Regions from separate parts of the Homo sapiens genome. Here region 2 is linked to region 1. Evidence: promoter capture Hi-C in human tissues and cell types (Jung and others, 2019). All regions are on one chromosome and are shown on one strand. The core of a region is centred on a gene start or on the middle of the fragment in contact, and the rest is flanking DNA. Distances in the headings are between cores, read along the strand shown.

The links. The method cuts DNA at HindIII sites, captures the fragments that hold promoters and counts their contacts. A contact is called where the count stands out against the background at its distance.
Region 2: the fragment with the promoter of MAPK9 here is called in contact with the fragment with the promoter of ZNF879 in region 1 in 1 of the 25 tissues and cell types used here (aorta).

What each region holds. Positions count from the first base shown.
Region 1 is chr5:179,022,516-179,025,104 of GRCh38, forward strand. It overlaps ZNF879 (zinc finger protein 879), which reads left to right and starts at 1,289. Exons shown (of 5, transcript NM_001136116.3): 1 at 1,289-1,389; 2 at 2,455-2,522. The coding sequence starts at 2,490. RefSeq lists an enhancer at 917-1,418. The HindIII fragment of the contact is 17,237 bases long and covers 1-2,589 here.
Region 2 is chr5:180,290,781-180,293,369 of GRCh38, forward strand. It overlaps MAPK9 (mitogen-activated protein kinase 9), which reads right to left and starts at 1,303. Exons shown (of 12, transcript NM_002752.5): 1 at 1,068-1,303. LOC124901151 (a long non-coding RNA gene) reads left to right here and starts at 1,452. Exons shown (of 2, transcript XR_007059085.1): 1 at 1,452-1,520. RefSeq lists silencers at 819-1,008, 1,139-1,508, 1,519-1,858 and an enhancer at 1,781-2,423. The HindIII fragment of the contact is 17,371 bases long and covers 1-2,589 here.

The sequences.
Region 1 (2,589 bases), core at 39-2,538:
TACCGTTTTCCAGCGCAGCGCTACCATTTTACATTCCCACCATTAAGGCACAAGGATTGTTTTCTGGTTTTCTTTTTTTTCCAAATTTTATAATAGCCAACCTAATGAGTGTGAAATCGCAGTGGATGTTTGATCTGCTTTGATCTGCATTCCCCTAATGATTAGTGATGTGCATTATTATCTTTTAACAATATAAAACATCCATTTTGTTCGATTTAATTATTTTTACATTGCAATAATCTTTGTATTGTTGTAACATCGTGATCCAAGATTTCTTTTTCATATTATCTACCTGATATCTCTTAGTCCCTCTCTGCATTTTCTATCTTCAAGTACCCTTTGTGTTTAGGTTTGTCTCTGTAAACGCTAATGTTTGATATTTTAAAAATCAACACTTTCTGAGCACATAGTATTTGGCGTGTACAGTGCCGGTCACCGAGGATGCAGTTGTGATGATAGCGCTGGGAGTTGGGCTTTATTTTACGTTTTAAAGAAGTCACTTCAAAAGAAGTGAGTGCCATGAAGAGGGAAATACTAGGCTTATGCTTTTGTTTTACTCTGAGTGCCAGTAAATATGTAAAGATTACAAAAATTTATTTATTTATTTATTTATTTATTTGAGACAGAGTCTTGCTCTGTCACCCAGGCTGGAGTGCAATGGCGCGATCTGAGCTCACCGCAACCTTCGCCTCCCAGGTTCAAGCGATTCTCCTGCCTCAGCCTCCCGAATAGCTGGGATTACAGGCATGTGCCACCACGCCCGACTAATTTTTCGTGTTTTCGTAGAGACAGGGTTGCACCATGTTGGCCAAGATGGTCTCGGTCTCCTGACCTTGTGATCCGCCCACCTCGGCCTCCCAAAGTGCTGCGATTACAGGCATAAGCCACCGCGCCCGGCCGAGATTATAAAATTTAGACATAATTCATTTTTAATTAAAATCGCAGAATGGACTGTAATAGTTCTGTCACCACCTGCGAATAATCAGCAGCGGCTAGTCTTCCAGATTTAAAAATTCATACTCACTTTTCCGTCTTACTATTTTTGTCATTCTAATTACGAATACAATGGGTGGTTTAGCGGAGGGAGAGTAGTTGGAGCCCAAGCTGAGGGACTCGGCTTCAGCCTTCTCGAACTCCACAGCCCGACCGCGTTCTCCGCTCTCGGCGCTGTGGTTCTCTCTCGGACACCGTAAGTGGTGGTGCCGCAGCGACGTCTGGGAAATGAAGTCCGGAGGGACAAACGCTGCGGTTCAGCCAGGGAAACCCGTCGGCTCTCCGGCGCGCAGGCGCAGTTGCGCCCGGCAGCGACGGGAAACGTCTCTGAATTAGGTGTTCCGCTCGCCTCTTGTGCGGTGTGGAGCTGCGCGCCCCCCGCCGAGGCGGGCCCAGGTACAGGCTGCCGGTGAGGGCGGGCCCGGGGCGTGCGGCTGCCGCGGCGGGACCAGGACGAGGGCTGGCCTCTGCGCGTGTCTGCCGAGTCCCCGGCTCCGGGCGTCCGAGCCGGGGCGGCCTCGGCAGGTGAACCCGGCCCCGGAGGGGGCGTGGCCTGGGAAGGGCCTGGCGGAGGCCGGGAGGGCGCTTCGACGCCGCTGGACTCCTGGGCCGCAGCCTGGGCCGGACTCCGGGGGAAACGGCTCCAGAACAGAAACTGCAAAATGCCGCCTCGGTTCAGGGTCCGGAGCCCTCCGGGCGGTTTTTCGCTCTTAGTGTTTGTGGGTTTAAGCCTCCCCCTACTCCGTTTCCCGGAGTTTAAACTTTAGATTTACTCGTTTTTGGCAGTCTTGCACGTTTGGCAGTGTTTTCCTACAGCCAGTCCTAGAGTGATTTAACTATTTCTTTTTTTATTTACCGTAACCATGTCCACTTGCTACGTTTCTTCCCATTTCTCTAAATTTTAAATCAATTTCTAGCTAGTGATGCTGTTTTCTTGCGCCCTTGTTTTTTTGGGGCCAGGGAGAATGGGTAACGCTACCTTTAAGCAGCTTTGATAACTGTTTTTGATAAAGGAAGTAAATCTTACAAGAGGAAGAAAAGAGGACTAATTTTTGGTTGGCTGTTCCTAAAAAAGAGCATCAGTTCTTCAACTGCTGTTTTTCGTATTGAACAACATCCAAGTGCAGATGTGTGGAATATTGTGTCATTTCCTATTACTTTATCTGAATGAGCCTTGCCTGATTCTGCCCTTGACCCTGTTAAGGCACGGCAGATGGTCTTCATCCCTTCGCTCCTTTCGTCTTTATCGTAAAGCACTGGCAGAAAGGTAGCAGGCCCGGTGACTCTGAACCTGCTTCCCACACTGGTTTAAGTGGCCGGACTTAGGGCCCCTCTGGCCTGGGCAGTTCCAGGCTCCTTCTCTGCAGGTGCTCAGCTTATGGCTTCTAACCTGGTCTGGCCTAATGAGGGTGGGCATGCAGGCTGGATGAAAAGACCTCACAGCTTTTTTCTCCATTCCAGGTGCCTTCTCCAAGAGAGGCAGCAGGGAGGGAGAAATGGCAAGGAGGTTGCTGCCAGCCCATGTACAGGTGAGTGAAGGCTTCTTTTTGCTTGAACTGCCTTCAGGGTCTAGACGTGGTAAACTTCTTCATCTGT
Region 2 (2,589 bases), core at 53-2,552, 1.3 Mb after region 1:
TCTTTGATCATTCATTCATTCATTGAGCTGATACTACTGAATACTTCCTGTGTGCTTTCTAAGCACTGGGGATAAAGCAGTGGACAAATCAGACAGCTACCTGTTTTCACAAAGTTACATCCTAGTCGGGGAGACAGAAAATAAGCAGGCAAATAAATAGAATAGTTTCAAACCAGATGAGAGCTAGGAAGGAAATTTTTTAAATAATGAAATAGCATGACTAAGGGAAGAAAGAGGGTGGTCGAGGAGGGCCTCACCCAAAACGAGACATCTGACCAGAGGAAGGAGCAGAAAGAGCTACTTGTGCCAAGATCACGGAGACAACTCCAAAGACGGGGAAACAGCAAATGCAAAGGTCCTGGGGCAAATGCGGGCTGGCATGTTCAAGGCGGGCGAGATGAGTGGGACGGGGCAGCAGTCTTCTGGGGGAGGGGCGCGGTGGTAAGGGATTCGGGCTGGGTCCCCTCTGGCACTGCTGGACACCGAGTGTGCAATGACAAGGCAAGAGAGGAGTGCGCGGGGAGGCGGGAGGCTGGGCGGGTGGGGAGGGGGTTCCTACACCACTCACACCAGCACGGGCCAGCACCCTGCCCAGTCTTCCACAGATGCACACCGGGGTCCTGCCCAGGCGTCTGCATACATTCACACAGCCTGACAACAACCCTGTCCAGAAGAGACATTTCCCCACCTTCCCGAAGGCAAAACCGCGGCAGAGCGAGGGTCAGTGCCTTGGCCAAGGTCGCGGGGACGCGACCCCGGGCCCCTGGGCACCCGGCGCAGGAGTGCAGCTGTCTGCCCCACCTCCGGGAGGGATGGCGCCCGCAGACCCCACGGGCAGGTCGGCCGGGCCAGGCCGGTGAGCAGGCCCGCAGCCCGGGGCTGCTGACAGCCGGGCGGAAGGGGGCGCCTGCGGCATCCCCCAGCACAGGGGCGACGGCTGCGGCTGCCAGGGCCCCGCAGCCCCCGGCCCGCCCCGAAGCCCCCGGCCGCGCGGTTCCCTCACCGCCCCTCCCCGCGGGCCCGGCCCGAGCAGCCGCCGCCAGGCCTAGCCCGCCCGCCGGGCTCACCTCGCCTCCCCGCCGCCGCGCCACGGGGAGAGGGCGGGCGGGCGGACTGGCGGCGCTGCGTGCTAGTCACTCCTGGCTCCGCGGCCCCGGCTCCGCCGCCGGCCCGCCCCGCTCCGCTCCGCCCCGCCGCCGCCGCCGCCGCCGCCGCCGCAGTGGGTGTGAGGGGCGCCGGGGCGCTGCGACCCTTCCGGTCCCGCTCCCTTCTCCGCCGCTGCCGCCGCCGCGGCGCCCGGTCTGACAGACCCTCGCGCCGACCAATCAGCGCGCGGAGAGCGGAGCAGGCGCGGCCAATGGCGCCTGGGGGGCGGGCCGATGGAGGGTGGCGCGGGCGGGGTCGGGGGCCGGGTCGGGCGCCCGAGGTCCTGGGCCGGGGTTCCGCGGGTTCTTCGCCCCCGGGCCTTTCAGTGGCGCGGGCCGAGTGGCCATGGCGCTCGGGTGCGCGCAGTGCACGCGGTGAGCTGGAGACGCAGGCATTGCGCGGCCCACCGGCTGAGCCCGCTCTCCCTGCGAGGGGGGCGCAGCTCGGTGGAGAGGGTGGCCCGGAGGACCGGGAACCGGGCTGGAGGCGCGCGGGGCTCACACCGCGGGGTCCGCGGGGAGCCGGGCCTCGGGCTGCAGGTGCAGGCTTGTGGCGGTGAGGCGACTGGAGCGGCACGGGAGCCCGCCCGTTTCGGGGAGAGCCCGGGGCGATCGCGGGGGGAGGCCGGCCTGGCGTCCGGGAGCCCGGCGTGCTAGGGCCCGGTAGGCGGGGCGGGCCTCGCACTCGGTTGCTCGCTGCGGCGCCGGAGGAACGGGTCTATGGGGGTGTGGGTGAGGCCAGAAGCCGGGTCGAAGAGGGGGAGGGGGTGCGAAGAGATGGCGGTGTGTAGACAGGTGACCCGGTGGGTCGGTGACGCAGGAGGAGACTGCGCTTGGTGGCGGGATCACTTAGTTGACAACATCTAAAAATTAGGAGGTGCGGCAGGGCGCGGTGGCTCACGCCTGTAATCCTAGAACTTTGGGAGGTCGTGGCGGGTGGACTACCTGAGGTGAGGAGTTCGAGACCAGCCTGGCTAACCTGGTGAAACCCCGTCTCTATTAAAAATACGAAGCAATGAGCTGGGCGTGGTGGCGGGCGCCTGTAATCCCAGCTACTCGGGAGGCTGAGGCAGGAGAATCACTTAAACCTGGGAGGCGGAGGTTGCAGTGAGCCGGGATTGCGCCATTGCACTCCAGCCTGGGTGACAGAGTGAGACTCTCTCAAAAAAAAAAAAAAAAAAAAAAAAAAAAAAAAAAAAAAAAAGGGAGGTGCTCAGTCAAGCCTCTGAGAGGAGTGGGGGGCGGGGCGAGGAGTCTCTTGCTCAGAGCCCCCTAGGGACTGGGACCCGTTGACTCTGAGCTGCTTTTGAGGCTGGATCAGGTACCAGCGGCCTGGGGGTCGTACAGGATGGGAGAGGCCGGGGCTTGGGATGTTGCCAGATCTACGTTGAAAAGTGAAGCAGGAAGAGAGGCACTGAGGCTGGGCACATGGGGAAAACCGTGG